Regions from separate parts of the Homo sapiens genome. Here region 1 is linked to region 2. The links are contacts of gene promoters, found by promoter capture Hi-C in blood cells and fetal thymus (Javierre and others, 2016). All regions are on one chromosome and are shown on one strand. Each heading gives the region's core, a stretch centred on a gene start or on the middle of the fragment in contact. The rest is flanking DNA. Distances are from core to core; before and after follow the strand shown.

Region 1 (6,322 bases), core at 1,587-4,086, 2.9 Mb before region 2:
AAGACATCATGGCCAATAACTGAGATCCCTGAGAGCTGGACTCTGGGCGCCCTCAGTTTCGATGTCTTGGATGCGAATCAGGCCACAGAAGTGCCCTTATCTCCACCACTGTGTTCTCCATTTATCCCCATTGAACTTGCCAAGCTCAGCAACATCCTGCAGGACACCAACCTCACGGGCTGGGTCTACGACCCCGGGCAGCTTCTGTGCGGGTTCCTGGTTCCTCCCTTTGTGTCTCTGGGCTGCACCAGTTTGACCCTGATGTGAAATCTGATGCCTCTGTCAGTTTGTACAATGCGGTTTACAATAAAGCATTTGACAGCAATGCTTAATTTACCATTTCCAAAGCTCTCATTCCTTTCTGAGCATTTTCAGGTGGTATCATTTCCTCTCAGACTAAAGAATTGCCATAAGCATCCCATGCAGTTCAGATCTGTCGGGGATGAATCGACTTCATCTGAAAAATGCTCTTGTTTTGTCTTCATTTTAAAGGATATTTTTTCTGTGAATTGTTGAATACTGCTTTTCTTTCTTTTCTTTGACCACATGAGAGATATTCCACAGCCTTCTGTCTGCCATAGTTTCTTGTAGAAAAGCAGTGATGTTTCTAATCCTCATTTTCCCATAGATAACATGTCATTTTTCTGTTTTCAGAATATTCTGTTTATCTTGGTTTCAGCAGTTTGACCACGATGTGCCTAGAATTAGTTTTCTTTGTATTCATGTTGCTTGTGTTTGATAAATTTCTTGATTCTGTGAATTTATATTGTTAATTTTTAGCATTATTTCTTCATTTTTTCTCTCTCATTCTTTTTCTTCTCTTTATTAGATGAGGACTGAACATTAGACTTCCCATGATTGCAGAACTGTCCTTCGCTGCAGCTGTAAAATCGCGGCAAGGCAGGATTCATCCTGGTGGTGGGTGCAGGCCCTGATTCCCGTCACTGAGCAGGGATACAGCAGGAAGCTCCACCTCTGAGCACAGCAAGGGGATTGTTCTGATTCTGAGTGTGTCTGTTTGCTAGAGCGGTGGCCACACTTCCCCGGTTCTGCAATTGTGGATAATTTAGCATGACTTGTTGGGCATTGCAAATATCATGTCGTGGAGAGTCTGGGCTCTGTTATTTTTTCCAGCTGTGTGTGTGTGTGTGTGTGTGTGTGTGTGTGCATGCACGCGCACGCGTGTGTGTGATGAGACCATTAAGTTGGTTTGACAGACTGCAAACTGCCTGTTGAACAGCAGCTGAATTCTTAATTTGGTTCTTTTATCCTTCTTGTGTTTCGTGGAGTTTGCCTCACACATTCAGCGTTCGGATGTCAACTGGAGTTCTGGATGGAAGTTATACACAGAATTTGGGGTTCTCCATCTCTGATTCTCTCCTTCCTTCTCAATTTTTAGCAGGCATATTCCCAATTTCTTCAGGAGGGAAAGACCAAGGGTTTCCTGTTGGTGTTTTGGCAACTCCGCATGGCATGGCGTCAGACTCACCCTAAGCTAAAAACCATAAAAGCCCTCTTTCCCTTTGTTTCTTCCACACATCACACTCCCCTCCCATAATCCATGCTTTTCATCTCCACTCACTTTTTATATTTGCTCATTGTCTAGATATTCCCTGCAGGAGAGTGACATTAGACGGGCTCACTTGGCCACCATGGGAAGCAGAAATCCAGAGATGGACACATTCCCTAAATGCTTCTATGCTGCCCTGTAGGAGAGGTGTTACTCTACTCACATTGCCGTGAGGAAACTGAGGCTCAGAAGTAGCATCCTTTGTCTGAAAGGACATAGCTCGTGAGCGCTGGAAGCATAGTTTGGTGTCTGACTTGGCCAATTCCAAAGCTTGTGTGATTTGCACCAGCACTCAGATGCATTCTTCCCTCTCCCTCCCTACCCAAGAAAAATGCTATCCCTCCCTTTTCCTCTAATTAGAAAATTCTTTTGTATAGTAGGAGATTATTAGGAAATAATCATTTCTCTCCAAAAGTAACACACTGAGGAGGCAGTATCTGAGGGTTTTGCCCAAATATGGCCTTTCAACCTCTGAATTCATGCCTACAGAAATTCCAAGATGTTTGTCATAGCATTTTTATTCTAACCCTCCTTAATGAGTGATACAGTTTGCCTGTGTCCCCACCCAAATCTCATCTTGAATTGTAGCTCCCATAATCCCCATGTGTCATGGGAGGGACCCCATGGGTGGTAGTTTATTCATGGGGGCAGTTACCCTCATGCTGTTTTGCTAATAGTGAGTGAGTTCTCATGAGATCTGATGGTTTTATAAGGGGCTTTTCCCCCTTTTGCTGGGCACTTCTCCTTGCTGCCGCCACGTGAAGAAGGATGTGTTTGCTTCCCCTTCTGCCATGATTGTAAGTTTCCTGTGGCCTCCCCATCCCTGAGGAACTGTGAGTCAATTAAAGCTCTTTTCTTTATAAATTACCCAGTCTTGAGCAGTTCTCTATAGCAGCATGAGAATGGACTAATACAATGGGTTGGAAACATCAAGGACTCCAAAGCAACTTTTCTGATCACTGAAAATGGCTCACACTAGGGACACGAAGGCAAGGTTTGCAGCTTCCTGCCCATGTCTGTTCTATGCCTGACTGGCTGTGCCCAACTTATACAGGCTGGACTCATCTTTCCTTCTGTCTCTATGGCAACCCTCTCAGAGAGCCAGCAGGGGCAAATCTCTGCTCTCCTATAACCTTGGGGCCTCTGGCTACCTTCAAGGCAGCCACTTTTATTTTCTCTAACAATTCAGGGCAGGTAGGGAAGACTTGTGGGTGTCCCAGACACTGGACAGTGATTACTGGGGTTTACCATCCTACTTGTTTGTAATGCACTCTAGCTCACTCAAGTGTAATTTTAAATGCAGTTGTTAAATGGCAATGAAATTTCCAGTTCCACTTAAAGCAATCATAGCTCATTCTTACTGAATTAAAAGACCCAGGCTACCCTGCTGGGTATGGTTTACCTTGTGTTCACTTAGGTGTACCTGCTATTCTCCTGGCATCACAGAGAGACAAAAGTCCCCAGGATGGATGGTACAAGTATGAAACGCCTGCTTGAGATGAGAAGCCAAAATCAGGGGATTATTCCTGAGGCTTTAATATGCAGATTGGTCTTTGGAGTTCATTGATTGTTAGGGCAGTTTCTCTGACATAAAAATTAATCTTCAGAAATTTACACACTCATAGAGAATGAAGCTGGCAGGATTTAGCCTGCCCAGTGTACATTTCTCATTGGTGCAAATTCACATCTTGACATATGTTGATAAGTTTAGGCTGATGTGTCTTGTAATGATGTTGGTATTCAGGGAAGTTTATGCCAATCTTCACGTGAAGTGGTCCTTCCTTAGGAATTGCTGTGGTTCTCTGACTTTCTGCACTACTGTATGACTTCCTGGGCCACCATAATGAGACACTACAGCCTGGGCAGCTTGAACAGCAGAAACTTATTTCTTTACAGTTCTGGAGGCCAAAAGTCTAACATTATTAAGACATTGACAGGTTGGTTCTTTCTGAGGCCTTTCCCTTTGGCTTGCAGACACATCTCCCCATGTGCACACAGGGTCATCCTCCTGTGTGTGTCTTTGTCCTGATCTTCTCTTCTTATAAGGACTCCAGTCAGGTAGGATCGAGGCCCACCCTTATATGCTCATTTAACTCACTTTCCTTTCAAAGGCCTCGTCTCCAATCACTGCAGCCTTCTGAGATGCGGGGTTTGGACCTGACATATAAATTTGGGGACACAAGTTGGCCCACAACACCACCAAGGGTACCACTGAGCACAGACAGAACTTGGTTCTCTTTCCATTTTCTTCTCTCAAATTTTATAAGCTTGTGGAATATCAAAAAGAAAATGGACCTTAGATCAGGGAAGATTTTATGTGAATATGAGTTCTCACTTGGAATGACCTTAGAATACTGTTTTTTGATTATCAAAGCCTCAGCTTGCCTTTGTGAGAATAAGGACAATAATACTTTTCTAATGTGTGGTTTTAAGGATTTGGGATGAAATGCCTTAAATGCCCAGCTCTGTGCCAGGCACATGGCACATGCCTAATAAAGACCAACCATTAGGACTCGAATGTTGTTGCCTCCTCTAAAGATGAAGGTGTTTATCTTGCTGTCCTCAGGGGGTCCTCTTTTTATCTCTTTTCTTTTTAGTTCATGAGACCAACACTGTTTATTTACAAATATTTTCTGCACATGTTGATGTAATGTAAATGGAAAACACAGTGCTGCTTCCTTTATTTTTTGGATGGTGATATGGTTTGGCTTTGTGTTCTCACCCAAATCTCATGTCAAATTGTAATCCCCACATGTCAGGGGAGGAGCCTGGTGGGAAGCGATGTGATCATGGGGGAGGATTTCCTCCATGGTGGTCTCGTGAGCTCTCATGAATTCTGATGGCTTAAAAGTGTGGCACTTCCCACCTCACTCTCTCTCTTTCTCCTGCTGCCATGTAAGTAAGACATACCTTGCTTCCTCTTCACCTTCCACCATGATTGTAAGTTTCCTGAGGTCTCCCTAGCCATGCAGAACTATGAGTCAATTAAACCTCTTTTCTTTATAAATTACCCAGTCTCAGGTAGTTTTTTATATAAAAGAGTGAAAAAAAAAACTAATACAGAAAATTCGTACCAGAAGTGGGGTACTGTTATAGATACCTGAAAACATTGAAGCAGCGTTGGAACTGGGTTACAGGCAGAGGTTTGGAGGGCTCAGAAAAAGACAGATAGATGTGGGAAAGTTTGGAACTTCCCAGAAACTTGTTGAAGATGGTTTTGACCAAAATGCTGATAGTGATATGGACAATGAAGTCCAGGCTGAGGTGATCTCAGATGGAGAAAAGGAACTTACATGGAACTGGAGTAAAGGTCACTCTTGCTATGCTTTAGCAAAGAGACTGGTGACATTTTGCCCCTGCCCTAGAGATCTGTGGAACTTTGAACTTGAGGGAGATGATTTAGGGTATCTGGCAGAAGAGATTTCTAAACAGCAAAGTGTTCAAGATGTGACCTGGATGTTTCTAATGCATATAGTCATATACATTAGAGACAAGAGAACATCTAAAATTGGAACTTATGTTTAAAAGGGAAGCAGAGCATTTGAAAAATTTGCAGCCTGACACTATGTGGTAGAAAAGAAAAACCCATTTTCTGGGGAGAATTTCAAGCTGCCACGTTCAGAAATTTGCATATGTAATGAGGAACCAAAAGTTAACAGTCAAAACAGTGGGGAAAATGTCTCCAGGACCTGTTGGAGACCTTTACAGCAGGCCCTCCCATCACAGGCCCAGAGACCTGGGAGGAAAAAGTGTTTTTGTGGGCCAAGTGCAGGGCACAGATGCTCTGTGCAGCCTCAGGACATGGTGCCCAGTATCCCAGCCACTCCAGCTCCAGCCATGACTAAAAGGGGCCAAGGTACAACTTGGGACATGGCTTCAGAGGGTGCAAGCCCAAGCCTTGGCATCTTCCACATGCTGTAGGGCCTGCCGGTGTGCAGAAGGCAAGAATTGAGGTTTAGGAACCTACTGCTAGATTTCAGAGGATGAATGGAAACACCTGGATGTCCAGGCAGAAGGTTTTCTGCAGGGGTGGGGCCCTCATGGAGAAGCTTTGCTAGGTCAGTGCAGAAGGGAAATGTGCGTTTGGAGCCCCCACACAGAGTCCCTGCCCAGTGGCACTGTGAGAAGAGGGCCACCATAGGTATGGTGGCCACCATCCTCCAGATCCCAGAATGGCAGATCCACTGACAGCTTGCACTGTCAATTAAAGCTGTTTTGTTTTGTTTTTTTTATAAATTACCCAGTCTTGAGCAGTTCTTTATAGCAGCATGAGAGTGCACTGACAGTGCACCTGTAAACACTGCAGGCACTCAGTGCCAGTCCTTGAGAGCAGCTGTGGGGGCTGAACCCTGCAAAACATGAGGTGGAGCTACTCAAGGCCTTGGAAGCCCACCTCTTGTGTCAGCATGCCCTCAATGTGAGACATGGAACCAAACGAGACTATTTTGCAGCTTTAAGATTTAATGACAGCCCTGCTGGATTTTGGACTTGCATGGGGGCCTGTAGCCCCTTCATTTTGGCCAATTTATCCCATTTGGAATGGAAGCCTTTACTTTGCCTGTACCCCCATTGTATCTTGAAAGTAACTAACTTGTTTTTGATTTTATAGGTTCATAGTCAGAAAGGAATTGCCTGGCTTCAGATGAGACTTTGGACTTGGAATTCTGAGTTCATGATGGAATTAGTTAAGATTTTGGGGGACTGTTGGGAAAGCATGGTTGATTTTGCAATGTGAGGACATGTGATTTGAGA
Region 2 (5,852 bases), core at 1,681-4,180:
ATTACAGGTGTGAGCCACTGCGGCCCACCTGCATTGTTATTTTGAATGTATTTTCTCATAGTGTCAGATAAAGCAAGTAATTGTATTTTTGTGTTTAGGAAGCAAGGTTTTTATTACAGGAGAAAAGGAGATGCTATGATAGAATCGAGGATTTCAGAAGGAATTGTTCTGTTAGAAGTGGATTGAGAATGTCAATGTGAACTTGTATCTTTTATGAAAAAATTATTTTAAATGCCATCTTTCTAAGTTCTGTCCGCTGAAACGGCTTATGAGGAGCCCCACGATGCCTCCTGCTGCCAAAATTCTGGTCTCCAGTACTATTTTTCCAGAAAAACAAAAACAAAAGTATCAGCACTTCTAGGAGAAAAGGCTCATTCTATGTCTCAGGCAGAAAATTACAAGAGGAGCCTGGAATATCTTGTGCCAGAAAACAAGATGTTCAGACATTCATAGAAATGACAAGACTCGGCTGCTTATCTAAGAGGGGCCCCTCCTGGTCACAACTGAGACAATTTGAGGATCAAAGGAGAATATTGGCTGAGACTGATTGATGTACAGCAAATCTGAAATGTCCCATGTCCATAATGATACATAAAAGAGTTAACAAAGTGTTCTAAAAGTAAGTGGATTGCATAGATGATATTTCTGTTCATTGTCAATCATGTTGGTATTATCGACTCACTTATTGTATGGTTAAATAATAAAGAAGCTAGTACTAGTAAAACCAGGAAAACAATCTAATGTAATGATTAGTAGGCATTTCCTAACATAAAATTAGTAGAATGACCCTCTAAGTTGTGATTATGATCCTGAAACTACCTATTAAAAATACATGTGCAACCTCTATCAACTTCTATCAGGTTCTAGGTTTTAAAAATCACATTTCTTAGGATCTCATGAGGCTCAAAGCTAAAGAGTTAGAAAGGAAAAGCATTTATGTATATTAACAGCACATTAACAGCTAAAAAGAAAAACTCACATAATCATATTAGTTCATAGAAACAATGCATTTGACATACTCCAACATCCATTCATGATTTTATTTTATTTTTTATTTATATATTTTTTTTGAGATGGAGTCTCGCTGTCACCCAGGCTGGAGTGCAATGGCTCGATCTCGGCTCACTGCAGGCTCCGCCCCCGGCGGTTCACGCCATTCTCCTGCCTCAGCCTCCCGAGTAGCTGGGACTACAGGCGCCCGCCACCTCGCCCAGCTAATTTTTTGTATTTTTAGTAGAGACGGGGTTTCACCGTGTTAGCCAGGATGGTCTCGATCTCCTGACCTCGTGATCCACCCGCCTCGGCCTCCCAAAGTGCTGGGATTACAGGCGTGAGCCACCGTGCCCGGCCCATGATTTTAAAAAAACCTCTCAGAAATAGAAACAGAGGGAACTTCCTGAATTTGATTAAAAATACCTGCAAAATCCTAGAGCTAATATTATACTTAATGGTGAAAGACTGAATGGTTTTCCCCTAAGATGGAGAACAAGGCACGGATGTCCTTGCTCACCACTCCTATTCAACAAAGGACTGGAAACCAGAAATAACTTTAATTTTTTTTGTTCTCAAGTGATAGGTTCACAGAGAAAAAGCTTTACTGGATGAACTTTTAGATTACTACTTTTATAGAGCAGCAGAGATAAAAGCCAGGTCGAAAAGTGCATGTGGAGTAAGGAAATGGACCTAGTTCGACAAAAGGGCTCAGAACGACTGCCCAGATGAGATTGTAGACGCAGCTGTAGTTTACTTTCTATCTGGAAGAAACTTCAAGTTATCCTTAATTTTCCAAGGAGACAGTCACTTACCTTTTAAAAAACATTATTAGAGAAGCACCGGGCGGGAGCATATCTAGCATTAAAAATGTGGGATGAATACCATCTCTGCTTGGTAAAGGTGGTTGGGAATCCTGAGAGAGGGCACCTAGTGTGGCTTCTGCATTTTTCACAGTGCCTGGACCACGGCTGAAAGTAACTCTTGCATGACATTTGACAGAAGAGGAAACCGAAGCTCAGATTAAATTCCCTGTCCACAGCGGGATCATTCGGCACGAGTTCCTCCCTGTCTGGAATGCTCTTCCCCAGCAATAGATCCTGCGGCTCTTCCGTGTCTCAGTCTAATGTCATTCCGTTCCAGGATTCCCGACTTCTTAAAGCATAAATAATCCCTCCCCACCCTCTCATTGTACTGTTATGTAAGTTATTACAATATGTCATTATATATTTAGTCATACTGCTTTAGGTAATGTCTTCTCCACTGAACTGTAAGCTCCATGAGGGCAAGAGTTCAGTCGGTTTTACTTAATAATTAGCACCTAGTACAGTACTAGCATAGAATGAAGGCCTCGCAATTTTTTTTAAATTTATTTTTAGACAGGGTCTTGCGCTGTCGCCCAGGCTGGAGTGCAGTGGTGCAACCTCGGCTCACGGCAGCCTCGACCTTTCGGCTCCAGCGATCCTCCCGCGTCGGCCTCCGGGGTAGCTGGGACTGCAGGCGCGCACCACCATGACTGGCTAATTTTTTTTTTTTTTTTTTTGTAGACATGGGGTCTCGCCATGTTGCCCAGGCTGGTTCCTGAGCTCAAGTGATCCTCCTGCCTCGGCCTCCCAAAGTGCTGGGATTACAGGCGTGAGCCTCAGCGCCCAGCCAAGTTAGCCTTTTTTAAACGTCCTGTCTCCGGAGGTTGCCGAAGTTGGTTTTCTTCGGCCTCCTTCTCTCTCCCAGGCCCAGGGCTGGGACGAGGCCGGTTCCCGCCTGCAACCTGCACTGAAGACGGGAACCTTGGGAGCCGGTACCGGAACGCTCGGAAACGGCACCAAAGTACGAATCCTAGGGCGGAAAAGCGTTACCAAGACACTCGTCCCCAGAGCCGCTTCCTGGGACTCTCTAGCCTCCTACCGCTTCTCAGTGATGTTCCGGTTTCCGCCCTCCTCCTCGCGCTGTTTCCGCCTCTTGCCTTCGGACGCCGGATTTTGACGTGCTCTCGCGAGATTTGGGTCTCTTCCTAAGCCGGCGCTCGGCAAGGTAGGTTGGCGGCCTGCTCTCCGACAGAACTTTTCTTCTTGGGTTGAGGAAAACGCCTTTTGGAGTCAGGCCCTGGAGGGGCGAGCCTTGCTCACAGGGTGGGGATACAGCCGATTACCCGCCCTGTGCTTTCCGATGGCTTCTGCGGGGCGAGCGGGGCCTGGCCGGGGGGTGCGGGCGGGAGGGCGAGCCAGCGGCGCCTGCAGCCCGGGCCGCGTAACGCTGACCGCTGTGCCTTCAGTTCTCCCAGGAGAAAGCCATGTTCAGTTCGAGCGCCAAGATCGTGAAGCCCAATGGCGAGAAGCCGGACGAGTTCGAGTCCGGCATCTCCCAGGTGAGAGGGTTTCCCTGGGGTCTGGGGTGGGGGGAGGCGCCCCGCCCGGGAGGGGAGGCGGCCGCGCGTGTGTTGGGCCCGGGGTGCTCGGACGCGCGCTCAGGGTCGGTCCTGCTGTTCGTTGCTTCTTAGGCTCTTCTGGAGCTGGAGATGAACTCGGACCTCAAGGCTCAGCTCAGGGAGCTGAATATTACGGCAGCTAAGGTAAGCTGGCGCTCCCTCGGCTGGGAGGGAGGTTGCGGCGCGTCTCCCCGCGCAGTGCCTGAGAGGGTTGGACCTGGGTTACGGTTGATGATGACTTGCCGCCTGGCCGCCTAACCTGAACTCAGGTTCGGCCGTGTTGTTTGGGAGTGATACCGCCCAGGTGCGGGGAGTGGGGTTGCAGGTACCCTGCGGCTTAAGCTGTCCACATGCGGGCGGTGGAGAAACGTGGAGTAGGGAGGGCCTGGGCCCATTTCGGACCTTATTTGCCCTTACTTAGTTATAGATACGGCAAAGAGCTGTGGGGAGCTCAGGATGAGATTCTCTCTACCCTTAGCCCGGAGTTGCCGCAAGTGGGGGTGCAGAAGTGGTAGTGATTGGCCTCCTGGCCTGAACAGTCTCCCTTCCTGGAATAAGGAAATGTGAAGGTTGGAGAGAGATGAGAACATTTCCGAAGGATGCATTTATGATTAACTCAAAACTAGTATTAGTTTGTAGTGCAGCTACGGTGTTAGTGATAAGGTCTTCTTATCCTCTAATTTGACCACAACGTTTACTTTCTGAAGCAGTTAACACAGTGGATTTTTGTTTTTTTCTTTAGGAAATTGAAGTTGGTGGTGGTCGGAAAGCTATCATAATCTTTGTTCCCGTTCCTCAACTGAAATCTTTCCAGAAAATCCAAGTCCGGCTAGTACGCGAATTGGAGAAAAAGTTCAGTGGGAAGCATGTCGTCTTTATCGCTCAGGTATCTGTTCTACTGTTGCAGCACGTTTCTGTTTGTGAATTTTGCTAAAATTGCTTGTATTTAGACTGCATTGGTAGTTGGAGTCATGAAAACAATCCTTTTATGAATCCAATTGGGTAGAAAGATAAAGTACAGGCAGAGCGCCGTGGCTTAGGCCTGTAATCCCAGCACGGGGAGGTGGAGGCGGGTGGATCACTGTAGAGACCAGCCTGGGCAACATGGTAAGACCCTGTCTACAAAAAATAGAAAAAATAAGTTTTAAAAAGAAAGATAAAGTACGTTCTTTAATTAAGAGTCGAAACAAGAAGTCTGTAAAGTGACAGACTGCTGTGTTTTGAGTTATGAAAATGATTTCCCATATTTAAATTTCCACAAGTCTAGTGGGTTGCTTACATAGATGATCAAACTAAGAAACCTGTTACAGGCCGGGCCCTGTGGCTCACTCCTGTAATCCCAGCACTTTGGGAGGCTGAGGCAGGCGGATCACGAGGTCAGGAGATCGAGACCATCCTGGCTGACACGGTGAAACCCCGTCTGTACTAAAAAATACAAAAAATTAGCTGGGCGTGGTGGTGGGCGCCTGTAGTCCCAGCTACTCGGGAGGCTGAGGCAGGAGAATCGCGTGAACCCGGGAGGTGGAGCTTGCAGTGAGCCGAGATCCCGCCACTGAACTTCAGCCTGGGCGACAGAGCGAGACTCCATCTCAAAAAAAGAAGAAACCTGTTACAGTTCGGATGGGGGATTGGTGCAAACTGAAGTCTATGGGGAATGAAGTGCCAGGATTGATCTGGAATAAAAGTAGTATTCTGGGTCATAGGCATGGGGAAAGGCGTATCTGGGAGATTTTGTCCACTGGCGTATTAGTAGAGGCTGTGGATTCTGAATGATTTATTCAAGAATCAGGAAGTAACTCCATAGAAGGGTTTGCTCAGTCAATTGTTCGTCTAAGTTGTTTAGCCTTCTCGAACTTTGAACTTACCCTGCCATTCTTCTTGCTTTTAAAGCAGTATGGCAGTTACAGCTTTTTGTCAATTTAAAGTCTTTTTTCATTTTGTTACATGATAATTTTTACCTTACAGAGGAGAATTCTGCCTAAGCCAACTCGAAAAAGCCGTACAAAAAATAAGCAAAAGCGTCCCAGGAGGTGAGTATTTTAGTAGTTTCAGAAATGTGTGTACCCCTCTTATTAACAACTCTTAATTTGTTTAAGTTGTAGTTTATGAAAACAGATGTTCAAGTGGGAATTTTTGAGTAGCAGCATTTGGTTTCCTGTATAGTTGCACATGATACGTTTTAGAATTCTAGATGTAAAACATACATGTATTCATGTAGCCATTGTTTGCCTACTAGGTCAGTGCTGTCACAAGATGAGATGATTTCCTCCGATTATTTGTGCACAGGATAGGAATGATGAGAAGGAAATCATTACTTTAATTCTGTGATATAGCATGCTAGACACAGTTGACATGGGCTTGGATTTATCTTTGATTTTTATTTTTGCTGTGGATTGGAGGTAAAAAAATGTAGGTGGATTTTGGTGATAACATCACA

What was found. Contacts are between HindIII fragments. The CHiCAGO score rates a contact against its expected background, and 5 or more counts as called.
Region 1: a contact is called between a fragment that was not itself captured here and the fragment with the promoter of RPS7 in region 2, in 1 of 17 cell types (monocytes). The highest score is 7.4, in monocytes.

What each region holds. Positions count from the first base shown.
Region 1 is chr2:680,427-686,748 of GRCh38, forward strand. TMEM18-DT (TMEM18 divergent transcript) reads left to right here. Exons shown (of 3, transcript NR_183417.1): 3 at 830-2,437. Among named protein-coding and RNA genes, the nearest start is that of TMEM18, 6.2 kb to the left of the region's middle. The HindIII fragment of the contact is 1,997 bases long and covers 1,839-3,835 here.
Region 2 is chr2:3,572,330-3,578,181 of GRCh38, forward strand. RPS7 (ribosomal protein S7) reads left to right here and starts at 2,931. Exons shown (of 7, transcript NM_001011.4): 1 at 2,931-3,021; 2 at 3,263-3,355; 3 at 3,488-3,559; 4 at 4,158-4,301; 5 at 5,381-5,445. The coding sequence starts at 3,281. It overlaps LOC124907726 (a long non-coding RNA gene), which reads right to left and starts at 2,780. Exons shown (of 2, transcript XR_007086196.1): 1 at 1,806-2,780. RefSeq lists enhancers at 2,484-3,059, 3,060-3,636 and a silencer at 3,188-3,477. The HindIII fragment of the contact is 5,628 bases long and covers 1,591-5,852 here.